Regions from separate parts of the Homo sapiens genome. Here regions 1, 2, 4, 5 and 6 are each linked to region 3. The links are contacts of gene promoters, found by promoter capture Hi-C in human tissues and cell types (Jung and others, 2019). All regions are on one chromosome and are shown on one strand. The core of a region is centred on a gene start or on the middle of the fragment in contact, and the rest is flanking DNA. Distances in the headings are between cores, read along the strand shown.

The links. The method cuts DNA at HindIII sites, captures the fragments that hold promoters and counts their contacts. A contact is called where the count stands out against the background at its distance.
Region 1: a fragment that was not itself captured here is called in contact with the fragment with the promoter of GDNF in region 3 in 1 of the 25 tissues and cell types used here (hippocampus).
Region 2: a contact is called between a fragment that was not itself captured here and the fragment with the promoter of GDNF in region 3, in 1 of the 25 tissues and cell types used here (H1 embryonic stem cells).
Region 4: a fragment that was not itself captured here is called in contact with the fragment with the promoter of GDNF in region 3 in 1 of the 25 tissues and cell types used here (adrenal gland).
Region 5: a contact is called between a fragment that was not itself captured here and the fragment with the promoter of GDNF in region 3, in 1 of the 25 tissues and cell types used here (mesenchymal stem cells).
Region 6: a contact is called between a fragment that was not itself captured here and the fragment with the promoter of GDNF in region 3, in 1 of the 25 tissues and cell types used here (heart left ventricle).

The regions. Positions count from the first base shown.
Region 1 is chr5:38,147,314-38,150,528 of GRCh38, reverse strand. All of the region lies in intron 2 of LINC02107 (long intergenic non-protein coding RNA 2107), which reads right to left. LINC02119 (long intergenic non-protein coding RNA 2119) reads right to left here and starts at 2,049. Exons shown (of 2, transcript NR_134272.1): 1 at 1,928-2,049. RefSeq lists a silencer at 2,168-2,462. The HindIII fragment of the contact is 7,248 bases long and covers 1-3,215 here.
Region 2 is chr5:38,272,330-38,275,311 of GRCh38, reverse strand. The region is part of intron 1 of EGFLAM (EGF like, fibronectin type III and laminin G domains); the gene reads right to left. Among named protein-coding and RNA genes, the nearest start is that of EGFLAM, 15 kb to the right of the region's middle. The HindIII fragment of the contact is 4,073 bases long and covers 1-2,982 here.
Region 3 is chr5:37,838,767-37,842,119 of GRCh38, reverse strand. It overlaps GDNF (glial cell derived neurotrophic factor), which reads left to right and starts at 2,079. Exons shown (of 3, transcript NM_000514.4): 1 at 2,079-2,613. GDNF-AS1 (GDNF antisense RNA 1) reads right to left here and starts at 2,236. Exons shown (of 4, transcript NR_145476.1): 1 at 2,082-2,236. RefSeq lists an enhancer at 2,218-3,155. The HindIII fragment of the contact is 15,271 bases long and covers 1-3,353 here.
Region 4 is chr5:38,094,567-38,097,723 of GRCh38, reverse strand. The region is part of intron 2 of LINC02107 (long intergenic non-protein coding RNA 2107); the gene reads right to left. Among named protein-coding and RNA genes, the nearest start is that of LINC02119, 52 kb to the left of the region's middle. The HindIII fragment of the contact is 3,100 bases long and covers 1-3,071 here.
Region 5 is chr5:37,560,924-37,564,242 of GRCh38, reverse strand. All of the region lies in intron 9 of WDR70 (WD repeat domain 70), which reads right to left. Among named protein-coding and RNA genes, the nearest start is that of WDR70, 180 kb to the right of the region's middle. RefSeq lists a silencer at 1,121-1,299 and an enhancer at 1,107-1,814. The HindIII fragment of the contact is 4,709 bases long and covers 1-3,319 here.
Region 6 is chr5:38,129,319-38,132,656 of GRCh38, reverse strand. The region is part of intron 2 of LINC02107 (long intergenic non-protein coding RNA 2107); the gene reads right to left. Among named protein-coding and RNA genes, the nearest start is that of LINC02119, 17 kb to the left of the region's middle. The HindIII fragment of the contact is 8,812 bases long and covers 1-3,338 here.

The DNA.
Region 1 (3,215 bases), core at 522-3,021, 310 kb before region 3:
AAACATATTTCATTGAAAAGAGACCATTTGCAATATATGTTACCCTTCCTGTTGAATTTCGGGGACCTTGATGTTACTCAAATTTAGACAAGAATGACCAACTCATTTCAAGATAGCTATAGATATGGATATGGATATAGATATATACACATATACACATGCACCAGAAAGGCAAGAGGTGGTGCATTAGAACAAACACGGGACTGGAATTTGGGAGATGCCAATCTCATATCAGCACTGCTCCCATCTCCTTATGAGGCCTTCCTTAGCCATTTCATACCTTTGCACTTCAGCTGAAGGAAATATACTACATGATCTCTAAAGTCTCTTCAACCCCAAAAGTTCTACTAGTTGTGTTTTCTTTATTTATGAAGGAGTGGAATCCAAGAAGACAAATATAACCCTTGCTTCAACTCTTGCTTCCTCACTGTGCTCAATAAATATGTATTCACAATGATGTTATGCCACATGTCTAATCTTGAAGTTGACTTATGGTCCACCCAGAGGGAGGAAATATGTGAAAGGATTATTAAGGGATAAGAGAAGGAGCTAACAACAGAAGACATTGTGGAAAGTTATCTATTCATTCATCAAGCATGTGTTTAGGACCTACTACATGAGAAATTGGGTTAGATCCAGGAGATCTGAAGGAGGCACAGTCCTTGCTTTTATGGAACTCCTAGATTGATACTTAGAACATTTCATTCAATTGGGAGAAAATAGTGGAGGTGATTTTGCTTTTCATTGAGGTAAACCCTACCAAAAACATTTCATTATTATTAGCTCTTCTTCCATTCATATTTTGTGCATCTGACTTTCTTTCTTTCTTTCTTTTTTGAGATGGAGTCTCGCTTCTTCGCCCAGGCTGGAATGCTATGGCCCAATCTCGGCTCACTGCAACCTCCCCCTCCCAGGTTCAAGCAATTCTCCTGCCTCAGTCTCCCAAGTAGCTGGGATTACAGGCATGTGCCAGCACTCCTGGCTAATTTTTGTATTTTTAGTAGAGACGGGGTTTCACCATGTTGGCCAGACTGGTCTCAAACTCCTGACCTCAAGTGATCTGCCTGCCTCAGCCTCCCAAAGAGCTGAGATTACAGGTGCGAGCCACCGCACCCAGCTGACTTTCCTTCTTTCTAATATTCTAAAGAGTACTGGACTCTGATCCAGCATCCCCGGTTTCTAGTTTCAGTTCAGCTGCAAACTGTGTGATCTTAGGCAACAAGGCCAACCCCCAATGCTTAGTTACCACATCTCTTCAAAGAGTACCGAACACTTGTTCCTCATGCCTCAAGCAATTTTTATCAGGACGTAAAGGTATTCAGGACAACAAAAAAAGTGTATAAGAACTATATTATATAAGATGATTTTATTAACTAGTCAACAATGATGTCATTCACCCATCTGAAGTTGCCTCTTCTCCCTCAAAGGGAAAAATATGAATGTTTAAGTTTTTTTATACAGTAATTTATTTTGCAAGTTGCATTTTTCCTTTAGTATACTGGTTTATTTTCTGCATTTTGAAGAACAATTAATCTAGTTGCTCATCAAATTACTGTACAACTTTATATATTATATTATTTCATTTCCTTATTCCAACTCAGAAAGTATGGAGATCTATTTCTATGGAATGAGGAAGGAGGATATGCTAAGTTTATTTAATAAAGACTCATGAAAATTTATCCAAAAAAATTTCCCTTCTAGGTCACAAAAATATGATCTCCTGCAAATAGCTGAATCTAAAAGACCCATCAGATGATCAGAGAGTCACTGAAAATGCTTACTAAACCAACCCTTACTCTAGAAATCAGGAAAAGAAAGAAAACTTGAAGAAGCTCAGATTTGACAATTCTGACATTTGGAAAATCAAGTCAGCAAAGAAAGCTGCTGTCAAAGAATGTGAGCAAGGCCATTTACAATGTAACCATACCTACTCATTCAGCTCTGTATCCATTCACTCTCTCCTTCAACATTCATTGAGCATCAAGCATGTGAAAGTGCTGCACTTGGTACTGAGCAGAACACCAGGCTCTCACTGAATGCTCTCATCACTGGTGGAACGGTCTATTAGCAAAATCGCAGAGCAGTGGAAAATATTAAAGCAAGATAACACCGAATTGAACAAAGCCACCTTTGAAACGCAACCTTTTAATATCAGGTTGAACAGCTCTTCCTATTTGCCCATCTGCTAACCTTTAAAAGATTCCTCTCATTGCTGATACGGCCAGTTGCCCCAGCCTGCCTTCAATAGTGCACAAAGGGCATCTTTGTTTTCCTCCCAGTGAACTCAGAGGCCAACCCAGGGAACAGTGAAATATCCAGGATGGAAATGAGGTGTCTCCGTGACAGCGGACTCCTTCTTTTGCCCCCATTTATCGAGATCAACATGACTGAGTCACCAGTAGATGAAACCAATGATTGTTTTACTCGGACTTCCCCAGAGTCACCCCCTGAGTCAGTGGGTAAACTGGGGTAAGAACCCAGCCTTGTCCTATGAGGCTGAGCGGGTCTACTATATTTATCCAGGGTCTCATGATTCTTAGTGCTTTTGCTCTGCCCTCTAATTTGCACTGTGCCTGCTATAATATCTAAACGGGAAGTTGCCAGCTAGAATGGTCATTATCCGAGAAATCTATTTAAACATGTTTATAAGGTCAAATGAAGTGGGTGGTGGATAAGCTAGACAGAAAACAAAAGCTTTGGCTCAGCATAGCCAGTGAGGCTAAAGCTAAAGAGAGAAGTGTTTTCATGTTGAATTTGCACATGGTAGAAAAAGGCAGTCTAAGCATAATTATATATAAATGCAGGAATGAGCAGTCAAAATATTAAAACGACCAAATGATTTCTATTTAAGAAGCTGGACAATGGAATTGACTTATGGTAAGTCAAGGGACTGTCTGTTTGAGGCAGCATGCCGGTATAGCAGAGCCCAAGATCAAATTTTGGAAAAGCTCCTAGTGTATCCCAACCAGTGGGAAGAGCTGGGATGATCAAGAAAGATGCCCAGAATCAACCAAAAATGACCTGGGGGAGACTTCACAATGGAATAGTGAATACTATTGAACAAGAGGGAAATAAGGAGGTGAGAAAAACACCTAATATCTCTGGGAGCCCAAGCTGGGATTCTTGTATATTTAAGACTTTGAAGAACAGCTCTCTGTACCAAAGAAATCCACATCTTAGAGTTAGGAGTCAACCATTTCATTATGTGACTGACC
Region 2 (2,982 bases), core at 221-2,720, 430 kb before region 3:
AGTGCATAGATGGGTCTTGTTTTTCAAGCCACTTTATGTCTTTTAATTGGAGAATTTGATCAATTTATATTCAAAGTAATTATTGATAGGTACACACTTATTACCACCATTTTAAAATTGTTTTCTAGGAGATCTTTCCATCTTTTCTTACCATATTTCTTTCTGGTTAAGTAGTTTTCCCTGGTAGTATTTTTGATTCCTTTCCTTTTGTTTTTAGTGTGTATATTATAGGTTTTGCTCTGTGGTTACCACGAGTCTTACAGAAAACATCTTATAGTTATAACAGATTATTTTAAGCTAATAACAACTTAACTTTGATTGGAAAAAAAAATCTCTACACTTTAACTTCACTACCCCTCCACATTTTGAATGTTTGATGTCACAATTTACATTTTTATGTTTCATATCCCTTAACAAATGATTGTAGTTATCATTAAACAGTTGGTCTTTTAACCTTAATACTAAGGATGTAAGTGATTTATACACCACCTTACAGTATTAGAGTGTTCTGAATTTGACTGTGTACTTACTTTTACCATTCAGTTTTATACTTTCAGATTTTTTTTATTACTCATTGGCACCCTTTTCTTTCAGCCTGAGGAACTCCCTTTAGCATTTCTTGTAAGACAGGTCTGGTGGTGATAAATTTCCTCAGCTTTTGTTTGTCTGGGAAAGTCTTTATCTATCCTTCATTTCTGAAGGACAGCTTTTCTGGGTACAGTATTCTTGGTTGGCAGTTTTTTCTCCTTCAAAACTGAGTATATCATCCCACCCTCTCTTGGCCTGTAAGTGTTTTCCTGAGAAGTCTGCTGTTAGGCATATTGGAAATCCCTTATATGTTATTTGCTCCTTTTCTCTTGCTGCTTTCAGGATCCTCTCTTTGTCTTTGATCTTTGACAGTTCGATTATAATATGTCCTGAGACAGCCTTATTTGGATTTAATCTGATTAGAGACCTTTGGCATTCCTATAATTTGATATTTATATCTTTCTCCTGGTTTGAAAAGTTTTCTGCTATGATTTCTTTAAATAAGCTTTCTACCCCTTTGTTTTTCATCTACTCCCTCTTGAATGCCAATGACTCAAACATTTGCTGTTTCGACGCTATCCCATAAATACTGTAAGCTTTCTTCATTCTTTTTTCATTTTTTCTTTTTAATCCTCGCTGTATATTTTCAAATATCTTCAGGTTCACAGATTGTTTCTTCTGTTTAATAAACTTTGCTGTTGATATATTTTTCATTTTGTTCATTGTATTTTTCAGTTATAATATTTGATTTTTTAATATTTCTCTGTTAAATTTATCATTCTGGTCACTTATTCTTTTCTTCATTTCATTTAACTGTTTCTACGCATTTTATTGAAGTTCATTGAACTTCCTTAAAACAGCTACTTTGAATTTTTTGTCAGGAAGTTCATAGCGCTCCATCTCTTCAGGGCTAGTCACTGGCACCTTATTTTGTTCATCTGATGATGTCATGTTTCCCAAATTGTTCTTGATCATTTTGGTCATGTGTCAATGTCTGCACATTGATGAAGCAGATACTTATTCCAGTGTTCACAGTCTAGCTCTGTCTAGGAATGTCCTTCAATAGTAAGCCTATCTAGAGATTTTGGGCAGGTTGTCAGGGTGTGGTCCCCAAGACTGCAATTACTGCACACATTGCAGTGCGTGGGGGCCCTCTAAGCCCAGGTCTGTCACAGCCAGCACAGTGCCAAACTGAAGTCCCATGGCTGCTAAAGCTGTCACAGCACGGGCTAGAATCTCACGGCTGCTAAGGCTGCTGCAGTGCTGATGTGTAATCAAAGCCCATGGCCACTGAAGCTAGTACAGCACTGGGGCATGCCCAAAAGTCACACCTTCTGAGGCCTTCCTGTCACTAGGGATTATGTGGAGTCCAAAGCCTCTGTAGTTGGCCAGCAGTGATGCAGGCCAGAACTTGAGTCCATCTTGCAGGGGCTATGTGTTCCCATCTGGTGTAGGGATAGGTCTAGGGGCTATGTCTGTGGGTATCAGCCTGTCATCGGGCTGTGTAGGACTTCCCAGTGCTGGGTTTTACTGTGGTGAGCCCAGAATTAGAGTGCAAAGCAAACTCCTTTGCTTATTTCTCTTTCTTTCCCTCAAGTGTATGGTGTGTCTCTCCATGCTGTGCTGCCTATTGCTGGGGAAGGGGTGACATGGGTAATGTATAACTATCCTTCCTACCTTCTTCAATGTGTCTTTTCTTATTGTTATGCTATAACTAGATACAGTGGTCTCTAACCTGGTTTCTCTAGCTCTTGTGAAGTATTTTCATGCATGGATAGTTATTCAAATAGATGTTTATGCAGGGGAATGATTGCTGGAGAGTCCTATTCCACCATCTTATACCATCCTCCTCTTCTAAATCTTATTTTTTTAAATGTGTTTCAAAGTAAATTTCAGACATTGGTACATGTATCACTAATACTTCACCACTTCAAAACAATTTAGTTCATTTTTAACTGCTATTATAATGCAGGTTACTTTTAGGTTACACACAGACACAGACACAGACACACACACACACACACATACACACACCTCTCAAAAAGTCAACTGATGAATGTTTCAGTCAACTGGTTGCTTTCAATAGGACTTACCAGGAGTATTCATTTTTATCAGGCATGTTGGTTCTTAAAAAACAAAGAATGAAAAATCCTTTGCAAACACTCTAGCTTTTGGCTGCTTTGCTTTCAAGGGAATACAGAATTGATCTTCATAAGCAAGCCAGGGTCAGTACAATAAAATTGAAGAAGAATGTTGAAGAATTGGAGTACTGTTTTACTTATGATCTCACAGTTAGTTCTCATTATGGCAGACTGGTCTAGCTTTATCCTTTTCCCGCAACTTGACCTTTTCAATCATACCTCCGATGCCATTCCCACACAAGCCTCTCTTTCCTTTGGTTTTAAAGACAAATGGGGGAAGGAGGATTGTTGGACACTGGACTATTTTAACCCC
Region 3 (3,353 bases), core at 830-3,329:
GTTTTCATGAGGCCTGGCTGGGTGGCCTTTCCGGAAGGCTTTTCGGAGACACGTGGCGGAATGGTGGAGATTCCGGTCAGCCTTCCTTCCACAGTAAATTCCCATTACTGAGGGTAAACCTCAGTGGTATCTGTTCCTTGCAACCCCCGCCCCCCGCCCAAAAAAAAAGCCCAATCAGCACAATGCCCAGGGCCTAGCACTTTGCCTGGCACACAGCAAGTGCTAGATATTTGCAGGTGCTTGGACGGGCTGATCATCCCCAGCAAAAAGCCCTCTAAAAATAAAGAAATCATTCAGAGTAAGAACATTGATGAGGGTCGTCTTCAAATTCCAAAAACAATGCTAAACGGCAATAAATATATTAAGCTTATTCTGCCCTCTAATTTCTGAATCTAACTACATTTCTACCATAAATCTATCAAAGAGGGAAATGTCATTTTCTGCAGAACTCCAGAGAGCATCCTAATTTCAGCTAAGGTATGTTTTGATGACTCGATTTTCACTTCGCTTAATCTTAAATCACAGCAACGTTAGTAAGAACAATTTTCCTCCCACACTCGCTTCACTGACAAACCTGCAAAGTAGCTGATCTTTGACTTTTAAGAAGTTTAATAATACATGATCTTCCCCCCACACTGCCACACGCATTTCCCCTGCCTATTGTCTGTATCAGCTACTTGAAGAACACATACTCCCCAACAACCGGATGAGTCATAAAATAAGAGGTACATGGACGTAAACTGAGCCTGTTTACACTTTCCCTGGCCCCAGCTAATAAAATAAAAGAGGTCCCACTGAATTCAGGTCCAATGGCTTCCGGAAAACAGGTTTCTGCTTAGCAAAGACATGCCCTATTTAGTACATTATTTTAGAGGTACAGCCAATTCCATGCCCCATGTGAATGAAATGTATTTATGGTTATAGCCATGCACAGGGTGTGTAAGGACTTGCCCTCCTCCTGTCCTCTACAAAAGAAGGCTCAGGCAGCTTCTGGTGGTGAACTAACCAACAAAAGGAATGCCCAGAAGGTCTCACCTCTCCCATCCACAGAGCTCTGGAATGGGGGCCGGGCCCCTGATCGCTGGAAACTCAGCATCCAAGTGGGCGCTTGCTGAAGTTTCCCATCTGCATTTTCGAAAATCTGGATAAAAGCAGGTTTAGCTCAACCTCCCCTAACCCGTTCCTGATAAAGTGATCTTACGCCTCTGGAATTGGGATTTTGAATGTATGTGCCTGCCCCATGTCTGGTATTAGATTACAACAGCATGAAAATGGAGCCTAGGACTGAGGAGCCGGCCAGCCTCAGAAGCCTTCTTCATTGCCTGCCATGTAATACATGATATGCAAAGCCTCTGACTTCAGCCAGCAGATATTTGGAGACCGTGTTGGCCTTAGCATGGGGACTAAACTAATGTGTGTTTAGGTCAGAAAGCGAATCAGAAAAGCCACTGGAGGGCACGTCACGGAGTGAGAGCCCTATAAATTCATCCCCACTCGCAGCGTCCCCTGGCAAATACTCGGCTTCCCTCACCCGGCCGCTCCGCACCTCTCCTTCTCGGTGCTAGAACTCCGGCCGGCAGCTCCTTTTCTCGCCACTGCCTCCTGCCCTGCGGAGAAGCGAGAGGGCGAGACACCCGAGCGGGAAGGCCGGCCTTCGACAGGCGCGAGGAAAGCCCGGCGCTGCCCTGCACCGGCAGAGCGCCACCCTCCCAGTGCGGCGCGCGGGGGCAAAGCCCGGCGCGGGCGCCGCGGTCAAGTTCGGATTGCCCCTTTCGGCTGGCCCGCGCAGAGCGCCGCACATTCCTCTCGATTTTTGATCCACCCGGAGAGGAGAAGGCGCTAGCCCCGCGGCGTCTCCGCGCTCTCAGCGCTCTCCCTGCAGCCCAGGGAGGGGCGCCTCGCGTCGCCCACTCGCACCCCGGCCCCCCGCCTCGGGAACTCCAGGGCCTCCTCGCTGCTCTCCTCTCCTCCCCCACCGCCAGGCCCAGCCGACGCCTCCCGACCCCTCCCTCCCGGGGCCCCGCGCCTCCCCTCCCCCACCCCGGACCCCGGACCCCCAGCCCGGGCTCTAGAAGACCAGCCTGCGCTCCTGGCGCCCTCATGTCTTCACGGGACTCCCCGCGCCGGTTGACGTGGTGTCTCGTTCGGATCTCCAGGCAAGACCTCAGCTCCGGCAGCAGCATCAGACAAACCAGTCTCGTGCTCCCAGGCAGTGCGCCCAGAGGAGGCGCAGAGCGCGGCAGCTGCCGCTGAGCCGCCCGCAGCGCCCCGGGCCCGCGCAGCCCCAGCCAAGAGCGCGACGCGCGCAGCCCTGTCAGCCCCCCACCCAAAGCAGCGGCGGCTGCTCGGACCTCGGCTTCTGGGGGTGCGGGGGCCCGGCGGGAGAGTTGCCGGCAGCCCTCGCCCTGTTGGCGGCGGCGGCGGCGGGAGTCTTGGCCGCCGCCTCCAGCGCGCCCTTGCTGCCCCGCGCGACCCCAGGATTGCGAACTCTTGCCCCTGACCTGTTGGGCGGGGCTCCGCGCTCCAGCCATCAGCCCGGATGGGTCTCCTGGCTGGGACTTGGGGCACCTGGAGTTAATGTCCAACCTAGGGTCTGCGGAGACCCGATCCGAGGTAAGTGAGGGAGCGGGCCGGGGAGCAGGGAGCGGGTGGTGCCTGCGTCGCGGGTGGGTGCGGCCGGCTGAAGGGCGCCCTAGTCAGAGGGGTGCGTCTGGACCCCAGAGCAAACGGTGAGAGTAGAAAGTGGAAAGACTAGAGGGAACCTAAGCTATGCGAGGAGAGAGAAAAGTAGAACCGGAGAGAGGCCGGCCTTTCGGAGGGGCATGTTGCCTTTTCCACGTGGGCAAAGATCTGTGGAGCCCCAGATGCGCCTGGACCCGGAATGCCCAAGAGGGGCAGTTTCCTTCCCCGACTCGGCCAGGTGCTCTTCCGTCAAGTCACAGAACGATTCAGGGCTTGGGTCATCTTCGAACCCACCGCCGTCGAAATGTGTCCTCTCTGGACGTGCAGAGATACTATCATTGCCAAGAGTGCAACTTACTATTGAGCTTGTTTTGATCTGTGCCAAGGAAAAGCGCAGGCCGGGGGAGGGGCTGCTGCAAAGGTGCTGAGAACCTAAAAATGGAGGGCTCACCTCCTCCGGGCGAGGTCTGGCAAAGCTACATTCCTCACCCGGTTGCCTGCACGTTCCTAACGCCCTCCACCCCAACTAACCATCCCCGTCGAGGTTAGGAGAGGGGCTTTCTTGCCAGTCCTGGATTCAAATCTCTGTCTCGAACGTATTCTTGAGACTCCACTAGGCCATTGAGGTTATTATTTTAATGACCCCTTTTTCTCCTGTACTCTGTGCCGCC
Region 4 (3,157 bases), core at 272-2,771, 260 kb before region 3:
CGGGTCCTGGGTCCTGAGTCCTGGGTCCTGGTTCCACCCTTCTGTCAACAAACTGTGCCACCCCTGAAGGGCAGCCAGGGAGCGTTCATCCCAAAGCCTACCTATGAGAAATGAGAAAACAAAGGCATAGCCTCACAGCTACTTGGGACAGAGCATAGGTGCGAGACAGGCCTTTTGACTTCTCAGCTAGCAGACTGCCTCTGCTCACGAAAAAGAAACAATACGAAAACATTAATCATGCAAGACAAAAGGCATTATAACGTGTAATAGTCCATGTAAGTGTTTAAACTGAGAAAATAATTTTGATGCCTGAGTAGGCAATAATGCCACTTAACTAATTAAAATAACTAATACTGGCCTGCAAGTATGGTGCTGATTGTGGCATTTCAATCAAATTTACAATAAAGTTAACTTGACAAATTTAGTGATTATATGTGTTTTTATATGTAATATATGTGATATATTACATAGCATCAAATTAAGTGATTATATACAAATATATAATTGTATACAGAATAAATCAATCTGGTGACTATATGATATGAAACTTGTATCTATGTATATTATATATACACACATCTTATTGAGCAGCACAAAAATTAGACAAAAAAAGTTAGTAGTATAATTCCAGCATTTTTGGGAAGCTAAGGCAGGAGTATCACTTGAGCCTAGGAGATCAGCCTGGGCCACATAGTGAGACCCCGTTTCTACAATTTTAAAAATTAGCTGGGCATGGTGGCACATGCCTATAGTCATAGCTATTTGGGAGGCTGAAGCAGGAGGATTGCTTGAGCCCAGGAGTTCAAGCCTGCAGTGAGCTATGATTATGCCACTGCACTCCAACCTGGGCAACAGAGTGAGACCCTATCTCAATAATTAAGTAAATAAAATTAAATAAAATAATACAATTAAATAGTGGGTCACTTGCATGACTTTAATTGACATTATACAGTCAAACCAAATATGTAGTTTTTCTCCTCTTTGTTAGTCTTCTAGCATCTGTTTTTGGCATCAGCGGCATCAGTTTACTCCAGTATTCTGCTCCCTTTATCTTGAGCTCTCACACTAATTGCCCCTTATTGATTGTAATGGCTGCACTATTGTACTACCTTCTGCCTCACCCCAGCACACACATGCATGCACACACGCACACACTCGCCACATGATTCCATGCTGCTGTGCCTTTGCTCTTGCTAGTTCTAGTTAGAATACCCTTCCTACCTCTGTTTGCCTGAGTACACGTGACTTCTCCTGTAAGATGCAAGCTTTATCTCTGAGGGCTTTCCCTGAACTCCTAGTTTGAATAGTGCCCTTCCCTTTTATCTTTCCAAGTCCTGTGCACCCCTCTATCCTAACCTTCAGCACATTTCATTCACGTTACCAGTTTACATCCTCTGTCTAGTGAAGCAGAATGCAGTTGGTTAAGGATTTTCACTAGTCCTTAGTGACAAACAGTTGGTGGTCAGATCATGAGAATATAGGCTATCACTAGTTGTGGTAACTCAGATAAGCAGCATCTCTTTAGAGGACTAAGCTTGGCTAATTGATTCATGTTTTTAAGAACTCTATTCAGCAATCCTCTTCTTTGTCTTGTCTCCATCTTTGTAAGATTTCTACTCCTTGTTTTCACTTTTTCTTCCATTTTCATCATAAATGATGCCACCTCTCCTTGCCCTTGGTAGGATACTCAGCCCCATAGTCTGATAATCTATAACAACAGTAAAAATCTTCTCTTTAAAATTTGCAATCAGTTAAGATGTCTTTAATAGCTATTTGGTGAATAAAATCTGTTTTTACTCATGAAGAAATTGAAAGTCATGTACTTGACTTGTCATGCGCAATTAATATTTTCTTTGAAAACACTCAATACAGTATTTGCGATGCATTTAATTACCTAAACTACGTGTAGAGGTTCAGGTTGTATCTCATTTGAGACAATAATTTCAATAAGTACTTTTTGAAAAAGAACGAATAAAGCAGAAATTGTTAAACGTTTGGTAAACATCTTCAAAGATTCATCATGGTCTTTTCTCTCTCTGTCCCCGAATAAACTTTCACAAACATGTTATACATCATGGACACTTTTCAAATGAATATATATATTTAAACAACTTTTTCTCTTCTACCACTCTGGCTCTGTGGTTGACATCCCTGCCAAGACTGCTAAGCAGTATAAAGGTAACTTGCCACTGTCTCCAGAGCCCAAAGACACATCCCCACCACTGCGCACACTGGTGTCTGCTGAGTTAGGCTGCCTCCACCACCTCCCTATGCACCACGGCCTCTGCTGGAGCTGCTCCCACCACAGGTGCTGCTACCACTCCCACTGGATACTTCTATTTCCACTGACGCTGATGTGCTGAGGTTTAGGAGGTGGCAGGGTTTCTGCTGTGGTGAGGTGGAAACATTGCCTTCCCACACAATATGGCTTTGCCCCTGTGTCTCCCGGAGTTTTGACACCCAGTGTCTTCTCTTCCTAGGACTTAGACATGATTTCACGGAGCAACTGGCAGATAGCTGCCACTGCTTAAAGAACCAGGCTTCTCCAAGGCCAAGGTTGTGCTATTCTCCCCTTAGACTAAATTATTTCTTAGAAAGTATCCCCATCCCCCATGCATGTGGGCTCCTGCAAGTGCGCTGCTGGAGGCACTGTTCAAAGTATTTGATTCAGGAATTTACCTTAGGCTCAGCCTGGGACAAGAAAGTTTACCCACATTTTTGCCCAATTCAGGTGCAAAATGAATGTGAACATTCAGTCAAGCATTGCAAACACAGTCTTAAATCTATCATGTCACAAGCAGAGTCTCAGAATACATATTTGACTTCTGTTATGACCCCTTTTAAAAGGATAGTTTTTGGCAAAATGATTTTTTAAAACCCCATAAAATTACAGTATTTTTTAAACATGGGACATGTGGCTCTGGAGGAAAAACAGAAAAAGCTGTCATGGAAAATCTGAACATGCACAAGATCCAACCCAGATGATTTCAACTATTAAGGGAATTACTTAATGTTCATTCGCATGTCCTTGTTGTTACCCTCTATTCAACTTTGATGTAGCTATACCAGTTTGGTGCCTGTGATTATAGATGAAGCACTACTGGAAAATTGGGAGTTTGGAAAAGAGTAACGGTGGTGACTGAATGAATGGCAACAA
Region 5 (3,319 bases), core at 510-3,009, 280 kb after region 3:
GCTCAATGGTGCCCAGGCTGGAGTGCAGTGGCGTGATCTCGGCTCGCTACAACCTCCACCTCCCAGCTGCCTGCCTTGGCCCCGCAAAGTGCCGAGATTGCAGCCTCTGCCCAGCCGCCACCCCGTCTGGGAAGTGAGGAGCGTCTCTGCCTGGCCGCCCATCGTCTGGGATGTGAGGAGCTTCTCTGCCTGGCTGCCCAGTCTGGAAAGTGAGGAGCGTCTCTGCCCGGCCGCCATCCCATCTAGGAAGTGAGGAGCGTCTCTGCCAGGCCGCCCATCGTCTGAGATGTGGGGAGCGCCTCTGCCCTGCCGCCCCGTCTGGGATGTGAGGAGCGTCTCTGCCCGGCCGCCCCGTCTGAGAAGTGAGGAGACCCTCTGCCTGGCAACCGCCCCATCTGAGAAGTGAGGAGCCCCTCCGCCCGGCAGCCACACCGTCTGAGAAGTGAGGAGCCCCTCCGCCCGGCAGCCACTCCGTCTGGGACGTGAGGAGCATCTCCGCCCGGCAGCCACCCCGTCTGGGAGGGAGGTGGGGGTCAGCCCCCCGCCCGGCCAGCCGCCCCGTCCGGGAGGGAGGTGGGGGGGGGTCAGCCCCCCGCCCGGCCAGCCGCCCCATCCGGGGGGAGGTGGGGGGGGTCATCCCCCCGCCCGGCCAGCCGCCCGTCCGGGAGGGAGGTGGGGGGGGGTCAGCCCCCCGCCCGGCCAGCCGCCCCATCCGGGAGGTGAGGGGCGCCTCTGCCCGGCCGCCCCTACTGGGAAGTGAGGAGCCCCTCTGCCCGGCCAGCCGCCCCGTCCGGGAAGGATGTGGGGGGGTCAGCCCCCCGCCCGGCCAGCCGCCCAATCCTGGAGGTGAGGGGCGCCTCTGCCCGGCCGCCCCTACTGGGAAGAGAGGAGCCCCTCTGCACGGCCAGCCGCCCCGTCCAGGAGGGAGGTGGGGGGCCAGCCCCCCGCCCGGCCAGCCGCCCCATCCGGAAAGTGAGGGGCGCCTCTGCCTGGCCGCCCCTACTGGGAAGTGAGGAGCCCCTCTGCCCGGCCAGCCGCCCCGTCCAGGAGGGAGGTGGGGGGGTCAGCCCCCCGCCCAGCCAGCCCCCCCATCCGGGAGGGAGGCCGGGAGGTCAGCCCCCCGCCCAGCCAGCCGCCCCGTCCGGGAGGGAGGCGGGGGGGGTCAGCCCCCCGCCCGGCCAGCCGCCCCGTCCGGGAGGTGAGGGGCGCCTCTGCCCGGCCGCCCCTACTGGGAAGTGAGGAGCCCCTCTGCCCGGCCACCACCCCGTCTGGGAGGTGTACTCAACAGCTCATTGAGAACGGGCCATGATGACAACGGCAGTTTTGTGGAATAGAAAGGGGGGAAAGGTGGGGAAAAGATTGAGAAATCGAATGGTTGCCATGTCTGTGTAGAAAGAGGTAGACATGGGAGACTTTTCATTTTGTTCTGTACTAAGAAAAATTCTTCTGCCTTGGGATCCTGTTGATCTGTGACCTTACCCCCAACCCTGTGCTCTCTGAAACATGTGCGGTGTCCACTCAGGGTTGAATGGATTAAGGGTGGTGCAAGATGTGCTTTGTTAAACAGATGCTTGAAGGCAGCATGCTCGTTAAGAGTCATCACCACTCCCTAATCTCAAGTACCCAGGGACACAAACACTGCGGAAGGCCGGAAGGCCGCAGGGTCCTCTGCCTAGGAAAACCAGAGACCTTTGTTCACTTATCTGCTGACCTTCCCTCCACTATTGTCCTGTGACCCTGCCAAATCCCCCTCTGGGAGAAACACCCAAGAATGATCAATTAAAAAAAAAAAAAAAGAGAATTAAGCCTCAAAGCCATTAATTAACTTGCAGGATCTAAGTTTTCTGATTTTTCTAGGATGTCATTTTACTTTTTTTTTTCTTTTGAGACACACAGTCTCACTCTGTCAGCCAGGCTGGAGCACAATGGTGTTATCTTGGCTCACAGCAACCTCTGCCTCCCGGTTCAAGCAATTTTTGCGCCTTAGCCTCCCAAGTAGCTGGGATTACAGGCATGTGCCACCACACCCAGCTAATTTTTATATTTTAATAGAGACGGGGTTTCACCATGTTGACCAGGCTGGTCTCGAACACCTGGCCTCAAGTGATCCACCTGCCTTGGCCTCCCAAAGTGCTGAGATAACAGGCATGAGCCACCGCGCCCAGCCTAGTATGTCATTTTAAAAAACAAAGAAAAATTTTCACTTAATGACATAAAATTTTAACATGCATTTGGTGTCACCTCCTCATATGTAGACCCCAGGACCATGAGACAGCATCATGGAATACCTCAAATGCCTCTTTTTTCCTTGCCACTATTTCCTTCAACCTTAATTCTCTAAATCCACAAGTTCTTTCTTCCTTTTCCACAATAACACATGAAACAATATTTACATAAATAGCAAAACTGCTTACAATTTCAGATGCTATCTTTATGTTAAATCAACAGAGAACCTTTCTAATTTACTACTAAAAAGCAGTAAGTCACAATATGAACTATAATAAAAGGGATTCTACCCACCAGAGGATTAAGCTTTGCCAATACAATGAGACCTATTTTATAAAAATAACCCTCATAACGACATGGCCTGTTGCTGAGACCCTCCTACACCAGATCCTGTCCTTGTTGGGGATAAAACAAGCTTTAGCACCATGCCAACAAAGCAGCTGCCACAAATGAATTCTTCCTGATTCTAGAGAACTATCACTCCATTTCCCCACCAAGGTGGCTAACCTTATTTGTTGTTAGCATGTGTTTTGGCTATATAGCTTAACTAAATATTTTATGCAATTTAAATTAAACAGCTGTTTTAGCATAGTGTATACCATCTCTGTGATATCGATGAGGAAGACTTTATTTCTAAAAGAATTCAAAAATATGGATTTATAGACTGACCAAAATAATCTTATCCCTCGGTTTTCTATATTAGTTAGATCGGTCCATTTTTCTAGCACTTTGAGAGAGAGGATAGAGGATACCAAGAAGTACAAATTGTCCCGTCTTCGTGGCACTTAAAGTATTATTTAAAGAAATTTCTTTTTTCCTGTAATACCAGTGAAACGAGACATGGCAAGTCTGTAATAGCCAATCACAGTCATCTTCTTAGTAGATTTCCCCTGACAGTATGTATAGTAGACTGCTTTTCATGGAATTAAGAAAAGAATGCAGTTGACTCAGTAATAATGACATATACATGAACCTGCCAGTCATAGGTGTACCACATGGCCGGCTCAGCCAAGCTTTGACTTGTATTTTTTTCTTCAAGATTGGCTTCTTGGTGGTCTGCACCTATAGTCCTAGCTTCTCAAGAGGCTGGAGA
Region 6 (3,338 bases), core at 359-2,858, 290 kb before region 3:
TGCATTTAACATACATACATGTGTAATTTATATTAATATTCTCATATATACACATATATGTATATACACAGACGAAAATATATTTACAGTAGATTGTATGAATTTGGTCGTTACTCACAAATACACCATTGTCTATGTCTGGCCACACTAGTCAATGTTTGCTCACTTTGCAGCATTTAAAAGTGAGGAGTTGACTTCACATGTACTCCTGAACCTAAAATAAAAGTTAAAAAAAGGAGGAGTTGAACTGATTTTTTTTTAAATCACAAACCAAAAAAAAAAAAAAAAAAAGAAATCAGGGCACCTCTGTCCTCTGAAACAATTGGCACATTTTGTCCAATAATTAGTTCACTGAGTGCAATCCTGTTGGGTCTAAGCAGTAAATGGCATTTCTTGATTTTCACAGGTGATGATTCATTTGGAATCAACAAATGTTCATGGAGCGGATAACCAGTGATATTCCTGCTCTTCAAATGGGAGCATTTCCTCATTCCGTCACGCAGGCGGGGGTGGCCAAGAGCCTCCAGATTAAAAAGAATAATACTAATAACACACCAAAATGTTTCAATGCATGAAGGGGTGTTTCAGAAGTGGCTTTTCATTTCAACATTCTTTCAACAGTTCCGTCAACTTCTTATAAAATTGAGAGTAAATACTTTTTAAAGGGGTGTGTGTGTGTGTGTGCTGGTATTTTGGTGTGATTTGTATTGTGTTATTGAAATATGCTACCCTGGAAAATGCTCAGCTATAAATGCCATTCCTTATAAACATGAGCTGGGCTGCTGATGCATGGCTTTGCAGTTCTCTTTGAACTGCAGTTTTGCTGCTCTCTACGGCCTTCTTGCCACAGAGCAAATGTCTGGGAATAAGAAATGGAGAGGCAAAGGTCATGAAGTGATAGTGGAAAGAATCGGCATCTCTCCCGGTAGGCAGGACTGGCTGACATGGATCTACACTTCCCTTGTGCCAGGGCTTGTGCTCGGTGCTGTCATGCAGCTTCTCTCATTAACCCCCAGCAGCTCTTTCAAGTATGACTAGCCCAGTTATTAGAAGGAAATGGAGAATCAGACCACTCAAGTGTCTTGTCTAAAGTCACATCACTATTAGATCCCAAAACTTAAATGGGATCAGATCTTCTCATTCTGCAGGCAACATTGCTTTTCCAACTAATCTGTCCCGCCTCCTTGGAGGGACGGGAATAAGGACCTGCCCTGTCCTATTTCTATGGAGTATTCTGAGGGCGGTTCTGGCACATGGCAGTACCTGGTAGCTTTCAGAATGACTTTTCAGTCTCCACACTTGACAGCATTAGCTAGTGACTGGCTCATGTGTATTCCTTTAAAGATCATAACCTTGGTTAGACAACCCCAGAGGAACAAGCCAGCATTTTCCTAGTGATCTTAACAGTGGCCTAAACTTTTGGATCTTCTCTAAGAGTCGAAGAAAGAAAAAGTGTGTTTGTATGTGTGTGCGTGCACTCATGTGTTTGTGTGTGTACAACAGACATGAAGCAGTCGGGAGTAGGAGCTGGGACACAGGAGGAACAAGCACCTCTGGAACTTCACTCAGTAACATAAGAAAGCTGAAGTGGGCCCACCCGGTGCCGTGGACCCTGCCTGACTTCCTTCCATGGCTCCGTTGCCATGTGCATATCCACATTCATCCCACACCTTTCATTCCACACATATGCACCAATGCAAAAATCTCATGATTTTCTGCAGGGCTATCATGGCTACTCTAAGGGGTCTAAAATGCTTTCTGGGTCAGATTATTTCTAGAGAACAAACTCCTGCTTCCATCAGGCCAGGAGAGGCTGCTAGGTCAGGCAGTGTCTGAGCACAACTCCTCAAGGGAAGGGATTGCTCTCTGATCACCCTCCCTCCACTACAATACACACACACCCAAATACACAATAGGGTTTCCCCCTTGCAGCCAGGTATATCGTTTACTCAAAGAGGAAACCATTAGGAACTTATGAGACAAGCTGGGCCAAGGAAATGCTCATGTCACATGGTCCCACTGCAGTGCTAGTGAGGAAAAGACCTGGAAAATGCACCAAACGCCTGTCACGGACGAACAGCCATGAACTGTGAGGGGAGCTTATACCCCTTCAATGACTGTGGGCCTCTACACTCATCCCACCTGACTCTGACCCTCAGAGCTCAGAAATGCTTGTTAAACAACTAAGTGCTCTGACTTATGCGACAGCATCACCTGGGAACTTGTTAGAAATGCAGAACCTCACACCCCACCCCAGATCACTGCATCTGCACTTGAACAAATCCCAGGTGGGCCATGTGAACACAGATGCTCAGCTCTAAACTCCAGAGGAGGTGCTGTCAACCCTGGTTGTCCAGCAGAATCACCTGGAGAGATTCGTAACTGGCCCACCCTTAGTCTGTGATTGAATTTATCAGGGGTGTGGCCCAGGCAGGGGCATGTTTTAACCCACCCCCACCCATCTAGGGTTGTCAAACATAGCAAATGAAAATACAGAATGCCCAGCTAAATGTGATTTTCAGATAAAATTTTTTTTTAGTGTACATATAAATACTGTGCATATTATATACAATATTTGGGACACACATTAAGAAGTTACTTGTGTTTATCTGAAATGTTAGTTTAACTGAGCACTCTATTTAATTTGGCAACCCAGTCCCCAGGTGATCCTAATGTACATCCAGGGTTAAGAACCTCTCTTCTAAATCAAGCCTGTTGTTATGCAAATATTTGTCCTGAAATTTCCCAAATGATCCTGATGTTAACTATTGTCTCTCAAGATGGTCGGGGATCATACTTTGGAAGGAAGGCCTTTCTCATAATGGTCTTGAGCAACTACAGGGCCCATGCAAGTCTACTAATGGCAAGTGGATGGAGAAATTGAGTTGCCAGGTGACCCATACATATATGTCCGGTATTTAATAATTTTGTCCTGTGTCGTGTATTCACTTTGTTGGGACTCCCTAAATGTCCTGTACTCCACTACTTTTAAAATAAATTACCAAAATGCAGCAGTTAAAGCTATTTTTCAAGTTTAATTAGGTATCCTATATTTTTATTTGCTAAGTCTGGCAACTAAATGGAGAAACCACTCGCTAAAATCCTGGCGAATTTATCCTGAGAAATGTGTCCTCCCAGATTCAGTACTTGTCTCGACCTCTGTTAAGTTTTTCACTCCAGATCTCTGAACTTCAGCAGGTCAAGTCTGCTAGAAAAATGTGGCTACTCTACCAGCCAAGAATTTCAGTTCATTCTTTGCTGTTCCTGTTAAGTTGAATTTAATAGTTTGGCATTTATCTCACTCATATTTCACACATGGGATAAATTAATACTGACAG